Regions from separate parts of the Homo sapiens genome. Here all the other regions are linked to region 1. Evidence: promoter capture Hi-C in human tissues and cell types (Jung and others, 2019). All regions are on one chromosome and are shown on one strand. Each heading gives the region's core, a stretch centred on a gene start or on the middle of the fragment in contact. The rest is flanking DNA. Distances are from core to core; before and after follow the strand shown.

The links. The method cuts DNA at HindIII sites, captures the fragments that hold promoters and counts their contacts. A contact is called where the count stands out against the background at its distance.
Region 2: a fragment that was not itself captured here is called in contact with the fragment with the promoter of NDNF in region 1 in 1 of the 25 tissues and cell types used here (heart right ventricle).
Region 3: a contact is called between a fragment that was not itself captured here and the fragment with the promoter of NDNF in region 1, in 1 of the 25 tissues and cell types used here (IMR-90 fibroblasts).

The regions. Positions count from the first base shown.
Region 1 is chr4:121,069,809-121,074,444 of GRCh38, forward strand. NDNF (neuron derived neurotrophic factor) reads right to left here and starts at 2,727. Exons shown (of 4, transcript NM_024574.4): 1 at 2,185-2,727. It overlaps NDNF-AS1 (NDNF antisense RNA 1), which reads left to right and starts at 1,554. Exons shown (of 3, transcript NR_187407.1): 1 at 1,554-1,772; 2 at 3,942-4,056. The HindIII fragment of the contact is 5,612 bases long and covers 222-4,636 here.
Region 2 is chr4:120,730,250-120,734,885 of GRCh38, forward strand. The region is part of intron 14 of PRDM5 (PR/SET domain 5); the gene reads right to left. Among named protein-coding and RNA genes, the nearest start is that of PRDM5, 190 kb to the right of the region's middle. RefSeq lists a silencer at 3,819-4,025. The HindIII fragment of the contact is 5,804 bases long and covers 1-4,636 here.
Region 3 is chr4:120,751,384-120,756,019 of GRCh38, forward strand. It overlaps PRDM5 (PR/SET domain 5), which reads right to left. Exons shown (of 16, transcript NM_018699.4): 14 at 3,170-3,255. Among named protein-coding and RNA genes, the nearest start is that of PRDM5, 170 kb to the right of the region's middle. The HindIII fragment of the contact is 7,591 bases long and covers 1-4,636 here.

The sequences.
Region 1 (4,636 bases), core at 1,477-3,976:
ATTCCCAGTTGTCCCTCTCTCCCCTCCAAGAGTTTAAACTCATAAGAGTCACTTCTGAGGAATAAATGATGGGGTATTTTAATATAATCCTGAATATAGGTTTAGATTGAAAATGGGAATTGGGACCATAATTAATTATGTTGCCAAGTTTTTTAAACTTTAAGAAGACAGATGGAGGCAAATGACATTTTATAAGAGTGCAACCTTCTAAAAGATCATAGATTAAAACTGTGGTAAAACGACAGTATCTTTTTTGACATTTGATTAATCCCATATGCAGAATGACTGAAGAATTAATACGGTTTTGGTGTTTTCACTTTCTGAAACCACTGTAATAAGAGACTGACATAAACTCAAACCCCAGTATAAACACAGTCTGAGCGAAGGTTGCGGCCTTATTATCACTCTTAACAAACAATAATGAATAATCATACCGATCGCCCTCACTACACTCTGCTTTATATACATATTCCCTCTCGGATCCATCCATCACTTCTTTCAAGATAATAAAACAATTCAATCCCATCAAATCCCCTGCAACCGCTCCCTTGGGAGGGATGTTTTATCTCTACTTCTCCGAACCCAGGGAGGATTTTACTTGTTTGAAGGGGGCGGAGAATGGAGCGGAGTCCTATTTATTTCCATTGATGACTCCCCTGGTTCTCACAGGCGCTCAGGGACCGGGTGGGAGGAGGAGAGGAGGAGGTGCGGAGATTCCCTCCGTCAGAAAAGAAAAAGGGTTCAGGAAGCGAGGCAGCAGGAGGAGGGGTGGAGGGGGGAAAGAGAGGGTAGTGTGTTTGGGGAAAGCAGCAACTAAATGAAAAAATAAACTCTTCTTTGTGATTTAGCGGGATCGACAGATGAGAAGCAAATTTATCAACCCAACAAAGTTGCTAAAAAGAACTCTGTAAATAAATTTAAAGAAAAGAAGGAAAAAACATAACAACAACAACAAAACCCAGACATACACTCAGGTTCATTTCCCGCTCAAGGTCTTGGTTTTAGGGAGCCACCCGTACCCAAGAGCAAGAAATGGACAGCGCCCCGAAGGGGGCCAGGAGGGGAACCGCAACTTGGCCGGAGGGACAGCTCAGAGACAGCGTAGAGGTGCCCGCGGCAAACTCCGAGGAGCTGATGCGGGGCGGGTCCGGGGAACTGCCGGGAGCTCTCACGCCTGGGCCTGGGATAGGGTGCGGGCAGAAAGGTGAACCGAGAGCGCACAATGCAACGAAACCGCACTCCAAATTCAGCAGTTTGCAAAGTGCCTCCAAGAAAACAGCTGGGACCTGCAATCACTCGTTCGGACTCCTAGGTTATCGGGGCCGCGGCGACTCCGCTCAGTTAGAAAGGTAGCGCGGGTGAGAGCGAACCCCAACTCACGCACAGACAGGACGAGGGCACGAAGCCGAGTCTCCTGGCTGGGGCCGTAGGGGGCGTCACCTCGGTGGCCGCTCTGCTCTCCGGAAGAAAGTATGAGCCGGTCCCAGGCCACCTCGCTCAGCCCAAGGAAGTTTCTATAACGATGCTCGCCTACCACGCAGAGGACAAATGAGGAGCCAGAGCGGTTGGGGGTCGGGCCAACCGAACTCCCGGCCCCGGCTGCGCAGCTCCCAGACGCCCACCAAGAACTCGTGCGCTGCCTGGACCTCTAGCTTTTCGCCCTACACGCAGACGCCCTCTGCAAAACCCCAGTCCCGCAGACTTTCCCTAGCGGCGGGCGGAGGGCATGAACCTGGAAAGGGAGGCAACAGCCCTCTTGGCAGGCGGGCAAAGTAAGTGTCCAGGCTAAGTCCGGGATAAAGGCTCCGCGGCTCCCCAGACCCCACTGCACCCCGAGCTCCCGGGTCCCAGGTCTTCCCCGCCCTTGCGCTGTCTGTCCACCTCCTCACATCTCTCCGGGCCGCCCAGCTTCGAAAGCAGCTAAATTAAAAACAAACAAACAAACAAACAACAACAACAATAAAAAAAAAAAAACGAGGGAAACCTGCTCCTGCCCCTCATGCCCTCAGCTCCTACGGATAGGGCGCCCTTGAGAAGCTTCTTGGGCCTTGAAGATTTGGGGGCGCGTGCCTCGAGCCCCCATCTCGGATGACCCTTCGGGCGTGAACGCTCCTTGTGCTAGGTCTCAGGGTGGCGGGCTAAGGCGTCGGGTCTCTGGGGCATTGCTTTCCTCTCCCCACTTACCTTAAAAAGATCTGTTTTTCGTAGGGAAAATAGAAAAAAATCCCTCCCCGTGGTGTGGTGTGCGAAATAGTCCACGTCCCCGGACCCTGCCAAGATGCTAAGCACCAATATCCAGGAACGAGAAGCCTGGAGGGCGGGGACGGAGGCAGATAAAAGAGAAAAATTCAATCCGCTGAAGTGTCCCAACTTTGCGGTCGGCACAGCAAACTTCAAAGGCGGGCGAGGGCGGGCGGCGCGCGGTCGCCGAAGTTGCTGCGAAGTGGAGTAGGGAGCCGCGCGGGGCTGGGGAATCCCGGGGCAGCGCCGAGAAGCGGCGGGAGGTCCTTTTAAACTGCAGGGAGCGTGCGGGGGCTGGGCGGCGGGAGGATGCCGCAGCGACCCGCGGGGCTGGCGCGGGCTTCGCCGGCCGCCGCTAGTCGCACAGGCGCCTGGCTGGAGCGCCGCGCGGGGTGCTGGGAGAGCCGGGCGCACGGGGCGGCAGCGGCCGTGGCGGGTGCGCTGCTCAGTTAGCTCCACTCTCTCGCGGCTGGAAGTGGGGAGTGTGTGTTCGCTCCCGAGTGTCACTGCTGAAGCCCGGAGTCTCTTCCCCTCCCAGCCCTAACCCCTCCCGCCTCACCGCTGCCCGCCCGCCCCCTCCCTCCTCTGCCCGTTGCCTCCCCCTCCGTCCCTCCTTCTCTCCCTCCCGCTGCGCGCCAGCGCGCACGCACACACACACACACACACACACACTCATACACATACACACACTCACACACAGACACCCTCTCCCTCCTTTTCTCTCTCCCTGTAGCCCTCCCTCCCTCTCTTTCTCTCACACACACACCACCCTGCTCAGCGACCCAGCGCTCCCCAAACAGGACCCTCGCGGGCGGCATCGCGAGGGACACGCTGCTGTCCTAACCTTAGCGCCACTCGGGGAGAATGAAGGAGGCCCACCGAGCCCCCGACAAAGCTGCAAAACCCAGGAGACGCGCACGCGGGACCATCACACTGTCAAGCAGACCGGGGTGCACAATAGAGGGAAACTCTGGGGTTGATCTGGGGGCAGGGAGGGGGACGTGTTAAATCCAGAAGGTTGGTGGTTGGAGGCGGAAAGCAGAGTGTGCAAACTGTGCATTCATGTCCCACTTTTCACCCGAACGCCTGCCTATCACAGCCTTCACTCAGGGAGCGCTTCCCCCTCGGCGCAGACCGAGCCTCCTCCGATTTGAAACTCAGCAGCTGTTTTAACAATTGAAAAAGCGGCCCTACAGGACCAGTGAAACGGAGCAGAGTGTGTGAAGCCATTAAGGCTGACTAGGTAATTATGATAAAAAGTTACCTAATTAGCAACCTGGCCTGGGCTTAGGAAAACCAAGAAAAAAAAAGTACCGAATGATTTGGTGATCTCATTTTTGCAACTGAGAACCTGATTTCCAGCAAACCTGGTTTTATATAAGTTCTAATAATATATAATTATTTATTAAGATATAGTGTCAGTATTGAAAACACTAGTTCTGTTATTGCCACAATGAAATTAAGGTAGGTAGGATGAAAATCAGCCTTATCCCGGTCATATTAAGAACTATGATCTTTTTTGCTAAACAGTTGGTCACAGAGGGTGGACCAATGCAGCTCCTAAAGTTTTGTGGTTCCTAGATGAAAACACTGCAGGAAATGGATTTATAAAACCGTTTACACGACATAAAATAGTTTTGTAAAATTTTTAAACACTGAAAAGGACATTTCAGATCACTGTGCAAGCATATTTTTTGCAGATGAGACAATGAGGTGAGAAAAGTCCTCATTGTATCTCCACTTAGGAGATACGATCTAGAGCAGATCCCTGGGTCATTCATTAACAAAGCTTACGAAGTCCCTGCTGTGTACCAGGTATGTCTTATGTGCTGAGATTTAGAGGTGATGGTGCTGCCTTTAAGGAACTCACCGCCTGGTGAGGAGACAGAGGCATAAATGAAAATGTGATTAGCACTATAATAAGTGCAGGTACCTGGTCCTGTGGAAGCATGGAAAAGGAAACAGCTAACTCCCCTTCAGAAGCTTCTCTTGGTAGAGATTTCAGTGTAGAGTTCTGAAAGACAAGGAAGAAATACAAGGCCAACAAGGATGTGGTGGAGGGGGGAGGGCATTCCACAAACAGAAGCAAGTGAAGAGGTTAGGAAAGTGTCAAAGTACATGGTGTGTCCTGGAAACTAGGAGACTAGGTGCGGCTAGACTGCAGGTGAAGTAAGCAAGGCCAAGCCACACAAGGCTCTCTGGGTGTAAGGAGCCAGAACTTGCCTGGAGGTGGTGAGTAGTTGGGAAACTGTTAAAGGTGTTAAGCTAGGACAGATTCTAAGGTTTGTAAGTATTATTAGATAATGTGTTTTAGAAGGTTTCCTCTGGTTTCACTGTGCAAGACAAATAGAAGAGAGATCACAGTGAGGTTATTTCCAGAGGAAAAATTAGGTCT
Region 2 (4,636 bases), core at 983-3,482, 340 kb before region 1:
CTTATCTTAATGGTTGGCACATAATATGAACACAATAAGGATATTTTACGTATTATATTAACCTTTCTTCTCTTCACCGTTGCAATATGCATATAAATATAATGTTACCCAAAATTGAAAAAGGCACATGAATCATGTAAATATAACTGGGTAACTTTATGTAGAAATAAAATTATTTAGGAATCTCAACATAGCATAGTTCTTGAAATCCATTAATGGGATCTTCATACAGATAAGTCTTTATCCCAAGATACCTGTGATACCTTAGTAATTAAAATTCTCTGAATAGAGAACAAGATGAACATAAATTTCTGTTCCAGAAAGAAAATAGTTTGGAAATACTGTATTACTTTTCTAAGAATAATGGCCTCATTTCTTTTAAAAATTAATTGCATATTGCCTATCTTTAAAACAAAGAAAAACTCTCTTTATATATATATTTCAGACAGCATGTACTTTCTTTTAAATCCTGAAGTATATTATTAAAGTCTAAAGATAATACAGTGGTGGTGAAGCAACAATCAGCTTCAATGCTAAATATTTATAGAGGTTTATTTTAGCTAAATCTGCAATCTGCTGTACACACACTCTTTGTGGATATACCAAGTTCATAAAGGAGTTTAGTAGACATTCCTGAAACAACTCTACTGTATTATTGTTACAAATGGGGCTGCCCAAGCCAGAGAGACGAAGTTGTTCTCTGACACCACTCTGCCCAGGCCCTTAAAAAAAGAGGTGCAGATAAGATACAAAAGCCCTTAAGAGTTTCCCTTGCAGCAGCTGTGAGAAATAAAGAGACAGGGACTAAAACAGTACTCACCTAAAGCCCTGCTATTTACACTTGAATATTGACTATGACACTTTACAGTCAGTTCAGCAAACAACCTAACAATTTCCCACCGTGTGCTAGGCAGTCAGCTAGACCCTGAAGTTCCGCCCACCATGAGCAAGAGATTTTTACAGGTGTAATTTGAGGGAGAAAGTGACACCAAAAGAGCTCAGTGCAGTGCAATGTACAACAAGTGATGATAGCACAGAGAAGGGGTCCCTCACCCGGCTATGAGATGAGATGGTCAGAAAATGATGGAGGAGGCAATTTCAATTAAACAGAGGTCTTCTTTTTTTTTTTTTTTTTTACAAAAATTTACTTATGGGTAAGAGGCCAGGCAGTACAGCAGAGAAGGAGATGTCAGTTAAAGCAATAAAACTAACAAAAGTCTAGAAAAAGAATGGTATAATTTTGGGCTGGCAAATGAGACTGGAGAAAAATCTGCTTTATATTTATTCCCTTGTTTTTAGTAACAGAAAGTAATTCTATTTAGTGTGGCAACAAGCTTAAGAAAAGATGATAATTCCGGAATTCCTCACCGCCAAGTGTGGTCATGTGGAAGTTGGTGGGTAGGACTTCCAGAAAGCTCCTTAGTGGAAGTGTAATCAGCAGGGGCGTATCCTGTTACCTTCTCTTGCCTCCTCCTTCCTGTTGCCTGGAATGAGGATGTGATGGCCAGAGTGGCAAAATCCATCTTGAGTCACACTGGAACCTTGACAATGGAAGCCACATGCCTGGATGACTTTGTGGAAGTGTCAAACTATCCCTGGAATGCCTACTTCTGCACACTTATAAATAAACCCCTTCATGTTTAAGAGACATGGCTGGGTCTCTGTGATTAGCAAGGCAAGGAATTTCTGACACCAAGCTGGTTGAAAATATTAAGGGTATAATTCTGTGAGTAGGTGACAGAAGTTGTAATGGTTCCTATAGCTAAGATAGTTAAGGAACTGTGTGTCTGATGAGGTGTTCAAATTAATGTTGAACCATCTCAGGATAAGGGTAGGCATTTGGGTGGCTTAAGAGGAGCTCCTGCAGTCTTTACCATATGGAGGTCATCTAAAAGACTGGTAGCTGAACATAAAAAAGGGAGAATTTGCAGGGTCTATTATCTATTGTTTTATTCTTAAGACTGAATATATTATACACAGTTCATATGATCATTAGGAAGATTTCTTGATTAGAATATAAGTACTTAACTCAGTACATAGTATATAATGATCAATAAAAAGTTACTCATTCTAAAATATACTTCTTAACATCTAATATTAAGTAATCAGATAATATTATTTGTTTTATGCACTTTCAGAAACTTTGTCCTTTTCACATTAATAAAGATCCACTTACAAGATCTCCAATTTTACAGAAAAGATAGACAAATTCCAATAGTAATAACAATATAAATTCCTAACAAGTAAATTTTATATTCATTGTAACTTATCTCTTGAAATCAGATGTATTGCTTGAAAATAACTGATCTCTGAGGTTGTTACCTCAGGACAATACAACAGGTTACTTCACAATAAAATTTTTTAAACAGGTAATAATTTTATATAACATATTACTAAAAATAAAAAACTATAAAAACTAAAAAATGGTATAATACTCCTGCTCTCTAACCTAACCTGTTATTCAGTTTCCCTTTAATTTCATGACCAAATGAATTTGAGGAAAGATAATGTCATCGAAGTGCTTGCAGAGAGAGAAATATTCCTGCTATAACTAGCTATACCCAGTCTTTACGATATTTTGACTTAAATTCCCTCATTTTTAAATAAAGGGGTTGGATCAACTGACCTCTTATATGCTTTGCAGCTGGGATATTCTGTGACTCTAGACTGCACTCAAAATAGGTCACAAATAATGAAGACATTTTAGAAATGTTGTGCATTGTATTTTGTTCTAGCTAGTAATAGCAAATACCTACAGCCTTAGCAATTGTTATAGTTTTACTAGTCTCAACCTACAAGACCATTTGTGTGATATAAAAGAAAAAAGATATGAAAGAAAAATAGGTAAGTTCAAGGGATAGACAGAGCTGCTTGGACTGAATATTTTCTTTATTTCATAGGTTTGTGTTTCAGTAAAGAGGGAACACCTAGTCTTATTGTTCATTTTATTACTCCATTCTCTCACTGGGAAACAAATGAAAGCCTGTTCTGACTTACTGTTATCAACACAATCAATCCTATCTTCCTGTCCCAGCACCTGGGACTCCTCACAGTCTTGCCATGCCTGCCTGACCCCCACCTCATGCTCCAGTTCTCAACAACGCACACCTTGGGCTCTCTCCTACAGTGGGCTTCTCACCCACCCACAAATCACAGCTTCACATCCTTGCACACGACACTCAGTTGGTTTGCAATGCCCTACCCCCAATCTTGTTCCTTTTCCTAGAAAACTCAGACTCATACTTTCTGATCCAATTCAGACTTCCTCAGTGGACCCTACCTGGTCTCCCTGGGGCAGAGCCAGATGCTTTGTTTTCCATGTTCCAATGTTGCCATCACACATGGTTCTCTTTCACTGTAAGAATATCTAATGCAACAATGCCAGCTTCCCACTCCCCTTCTGGGTATGCAGAGAACTCCAGGTGGCTGAGACCAGGTTTTAAACACACTGTCCTTTCGATGTTAATAATGTTAATAAAGATCTATTTAGAAAGTCTCCATTTTTACAAAAAAGATATATAAATACCAATGAGGATGAGGATAAAATCATACAACATGCAGTTATATTGTGGAAAGACTGAATGAATACGTGAACTAAGCTCTAAGAAAAAAAGAAACAGAAGAAAAACAATGACACAAAAGTAAAAAAAAAAAAAAACAAAAAAACTGGGCTAATATAATTAATGTACCAGTAAAGTATGCCGATGGCAGAGGTGGCAGGGAAGAATGTATAAAAAGTGAGACCTGACCAGGAGAGGGACTGCTTTATTTGTAGCCTCAAAAAGTATTGAAGTGGACCTAGGCAAGCATGGTCATCCTTAGGAGAAGGACACATGGTCCAAACTGGCTGAGGCCCAGAGTGTCCAGGAGGAAGGGGGCACGGGCGGGGCAGACGGCAGGCAGCACAGCCAGCCTGGCACAGGGCACCCAGGCTAAGCCACCTGGGCTCCATTCTGCAGGCAGAGAGGAGCCGCTGTAGGGGATGGGGGAGGGCTTTGTTTGTTTGTTTTTTTTTTAGCAACTGAGACAGTTGATCAAAGCAATCTTTATAAGTATTGATGCAGCCATACATGGGATGCATTAGACCAGAGATTCTTGAATTGTGTTTTGTAAAAGACTAGCTCCAGTGAGATGTTAGTGGAACACACACACACACACACACACACACAAATACACACACACACACACACACACACACCCTTACTCACTACGTTCAAACTAGCCTGGCAAACACTAGCCTAAACAAACTATAAGAAATGCCTTTATTGCTGGATTTCTCAGAATCTGGAATATGGTTATATGTATCATAAAACTGCAAGATTCAGACAGAGCATGTGATTTTTCCCAGAAATGCTGAAACGCTTCCCTTCCCTTGGCTTCAGTGCCACCTCCCTGTTTTCTCCTGGTTCTCCTTCAGCCTCTTTGGCTGCTCCTTCCTGGTTTCCTTTTGGACAATATTCTGGGGCTTAGCCACTTTTTTTTCCATTCCACATAGATGTCTCCAGTGTATTTTCTACTTCTGCAGACTAAACGCTCCTCTGTTTCTTCCGACACCTTTCCTTGCCTAGCCCTCCTCCTATGCTGAGGTAAGTGATCTTCCTATGTGCACATACAGCACCCTGGGATACTTTCAGCG
Region 3 (4,636 bases), core at 1,000-3,499, 320 kb before region 1:
GCAAATGAAACAAAAATTGAATACGGCACTCAAGAGCTCTGGAACAGTATCAAATAGTCTAACATGTGTAACTGGTGTCCCATAAGAAGACAGAAAGAAAGGGACAAAACAAAGTTGAAAAAAAAATGGCCAAGAATTTTCTGAAATTTAACTAAAGATAGCAGACTACAGATCTAAGCTGCAAAAATACAATGAAAAACACAACTAGGTACAACACAGTAGAAGCTGAAAACCAAATATAAAGAGAATATACTGAAGGAAATAAAATCCACCAGCCTTCACCTCAAACCCTGGTCTCTCCATGAAAGGTCAATGATTAATTGGATTTTGGCAAAATTATCTCCCACATCTGGGGCTCTTACTGCACCCTATAGGCAATAACCAGAGAGTAAATGGCTTTGTGTTCCTTTTGGAAAGCATTCGTGCAGTCACCATAGAATGTAAACCTGGGGGTATAGGCCTGACACAGCATCTTGGGTTGTCTTACCAAAACTTCCTAAAGATGTACCTTACTGAATTAGATAGCTTATTTTTTTTCTGTTGTTGTTAAAATGGAATTAAAAACTTTTAAAATAGGACCAAAAATGTCTGGGAATTAGAGCTATCTAAATGCTCATGTAATGTGAATGCAAAATTGAAACTGAAATGTGTTATGGCCCAAATGTAATAGTATCTTTTTTGAATGGAGTCTTACAAAATGCAAATAATACTGGGAAAATATGACCTTGCAGAGGTTGTTCCTCTAGCACATTTTTTAAATCTCTTTTGAGTTTTAATAATAGTTTGATTGTACTAGCTGATAACCTTAGTAGGCTTTTGAAAATTTGAACTAATATGCAAAGATTATCTGTATTTATTCAATGCTTAGGAAACAGGATTTTCAAAATAAAACTGTCTGGGTAAAATATTTTAAAAATGCATGAAAAAGGAAAATTAAAAAAGAGTTTGAGGTAAAACCCAAAAGGCTTACACATATTTACCCTGTTCCTTGGATCTTCTACTCATTACTCATTGTGGGGGATCCTGCCTAAAATCCTGGGTGCTTCTGGTCTATAAACTCTCTTGAGTTCCCTTAGTCAAAGCCTAGAATTTGTTTTCTTTTTGTGCAGTTAATGTCAGAAAACTTCTGACAAGGGACCATCTGCAGCTGAATACTTTGGAGACAGTGTTGGGATCCTTAAATCGAGGTTCAGAAATTCAAAAGAATATGGGACTTTTAAATTTGGGGTCATTACTGTAATTTGCTTAGTGTGGAAATATACCAGAAAATATATGAGACAGTGGAATGAGAAAATATTCAATTAAATAATAGGCAAAAAAATGCAAATGGTCTTTGTAGCCAGTCTCCCTAGGTTCAAATCTCAACTCTGCCACTTACTTGTTTGTGCCTCAGTTTCTTGTTTTACAAAAATAAATCATAATAACAGCTACCTCATAGAGTTGTTGTGAAGCTTAACTGAATTAATAAATGTGAAGGCCTAAAAGAGTACTGGCATGTAATTAGTGATTTTTGTGTTTATTTTTATTCATCTTAACTATCTGTATTATTCTCATTAATAACTTTATATTAAAATGAAGTAAAAAACAAATTAATTGAATTGGAAATGTCTCACCTTCTTGAGAAAACCCAAAAGATATTTTTTCCTGCAGTGATTTAAACAGCTTCTTCTGTGTTGTAATCATGTCTATCTTCAGTAATCAAGTAAAACAACATCATATGTAAATTTCTGTCAATATCACTAGTTTCTATTAAGAGGAACCAGGGCCCCTTTGCCTTTTTGTCGGCATCTTTTAAATAAATACATTATTGATACATCTGTGACAACTGCTCACATGTAAAATAACCTCCTAATCTCAAGCTAATTTAAACCTCTTTCATAATACTCATTGTGAAATATTTTGGATATTGTACATTTAAATCATACTATTATAAACAGGAATATCTGTCTAATCCTTTATGGTTTATGAAGTACTTTTATATCTAGGAAGTACTCCAATTCCTAATATTCATATAATATGAATGAATATGATACTACAAACTAGAGTGAGAAACCTGCTATAGATTTGCTTTAATAAGTGGAGAAGCTCCCTCTCTTCACCACAAAGACAAAAAGAGTATTTTCTTAAGGGGACCACAGAGGATAGCTTTTACGTGCTGCAGAACTGAAGTGGAAGGCTACAGTATTATTATACCGGGAAGAATATTATTATTATGTGTTTTCTCTAAAATTTTTATTTTATAGCTAAGGTAAAAAGTAAAATCCAGGAGAGGTTTAAATTAGAATTGTTCTAAAGGGGATTAGATAAGTCTCTTAAAATTTGAAAAAAAAAATACATCATTTACATACAGACCATACGCACTTTAAAAGGCCAAACTGAAAAGAAACTGTGAAAGATAATGCAGTGAAAAGTTGTATAGAGCAAAATCAACAATAGCTATTTAAAACAATATAAAATTTCCATGTGGAAAGTTCATTTAAAGTGTCTAATTGTGCTTAAATCGAATAGTGAGCTATGAAATGGTGGGTGATGGTGAGTAAGCTGCTTACATTTTTTTAAAAGCATGTGAAACAGATGCTTGAGTCTGGAAAAGGCATAGATAACAGAATGACAATAGTCCAGTGAGAGTGTTGACAGCAAAGGAACAAAGGGCACCCTGGGAAGAATAAGCCACAGCACTAGGCATGCCCTGTGAAGCACTGAGCTACACTTCCTTATTTTCCACCTGTCCTGGTAATTTATCTGCAATGTCTTTCTTGCAAATATACTTGCTCATCAGTATTACTTAATGGCCAAATGCTGACAAACTTGCAGACTCTATTAAAAAATGTTCCTATTACTGGTGAATATTCTGCAAGAAAAACCTTTAAATATTGTAGTATTAAAATTTTAAAATCTATTTATCTTGAAGTTCATCATTTATAACTCCTGAAAATTGAGTCCTGATTCAAAGAATAAAAACCTTTTTGAGGTTTCAATTTGTGTTTTTTTTCTTCTTTTCTTTCATTGTTTTATCTTTAAAAAAAATTATCCTGAAATATCTGTCATAAATATAGATATACAACTTCCAGTGTATTGCCTTTATTTTGTAATATAAAGTTAAATATATTTCTTTTAAAATAAGTATGGTTTTCATGATCAATATTAATGAAACAGAATATAATCTTACCCTGGTGTGAGTACGAATGTGCATCTTCAGTCCATCATTTTTACTGAATCCTTTTTCACAGTAAGGACATTGATAGGGACGCTCACCTACAAATAAAGGAAGCCTCCATGTCAGAAAAACATGAAGTAGCAGAACCAGTCCTGTGCTATCACTTCTCACACACTCAGATCCTGGCCACCGCATATGCCCTGTGCTACTTCAAGAAGTGGCTCCAGGCACAGCAGGGCAGATCCAAGCATGGGTCGTGCAGGACAGCAGTGGACTGTGGCCTCCCCTCCTGTGGAGAGGGCACTGAGCCCAGAGCACTTCCGATACTCAAAAATAAACATTTGCCAGTAGCATATTTGCTGCATATTCCTTTTAATACTTGAGACCAAATTAAATCTCCTCATTTTAAGAATTTGTTAAAAATATTTTATGTTAATCAATTTGCTCTATCACTGTACTACTCTTTAAAGGGGAATTATTTAACTGATTCATTGACACCTTGTTCTGTTTAATTTTTTTGTTTCATATAAATGAATTTGACTCAGTTAAGGCTGTGAGTTTCAAAAGAATTTCATAAAATTGGTATATGTTCAAAAGGACCATTGGTAGTTAAACTAAATAATAATTAATCCATACTTTCTGATATAATCAAATATCTCTCACCTAGAGGCTATAATTTTGAAAACAGCCAAAATGTTTTTCAAGACAAGCACACATATACACAGCACATTTCAAAAAAAATTCTACTGTGAAATGACAAAACTGTGACAAAATTTAATCTCCAAAAGGGATCTGAAGATGCCCTCTTGTCAAAGCCAAATCATTTAGGATGGACAGTAGCTCAAAATCACTAATTGATTTATTCTTTCATTTAACAATGTACTTACACAGCAGGATGCTAGACCCTGGCTGCAATCAAAGATCAATATAATAAAATATTTTCCTTCAGCTAATGTAAAACTTTTGTCTTCCCTTCAGAGCCAGGCCTTCTGACTAGCAGTGTATGTTCTTCCTCTACTCTCTCATGTTCCATTTGGTTCTGATCTTAATTCAATCTGGATATCATGTGCATTATCCCAGTCAACTCTCTCATGGGGTCAACAATGCCCCTTGTTGCTTGATCCAGTGACTACTTTTCAACAAGGCCTTCCTTGACCTCTCCCCTGTCCCTGACACTGCTTCATGAAATTGTCAGTTACATTCCTGGATCTCAAGGCTGGCCCCATTGCACAATGGCCTTGCACTGTTCTCCCCAACTTTGTTTCCAGCAGAGACATCATACGGAAGCACCTGCAGCGGTGTCCCCTGCCAAGCGACATTTTCCAGCCTCTCCTCCTTGGGGAGAAGCACCCAGGATTCTCCCTTTGGACCAGGCACTGTAAAATGGTGACAAACACCCAAAGTAGCAATAAACTAAAAACAACAATCACAACACAAACAGGAACAGGTCCCTTAAATGAGCTATCCAGACTTACCAAC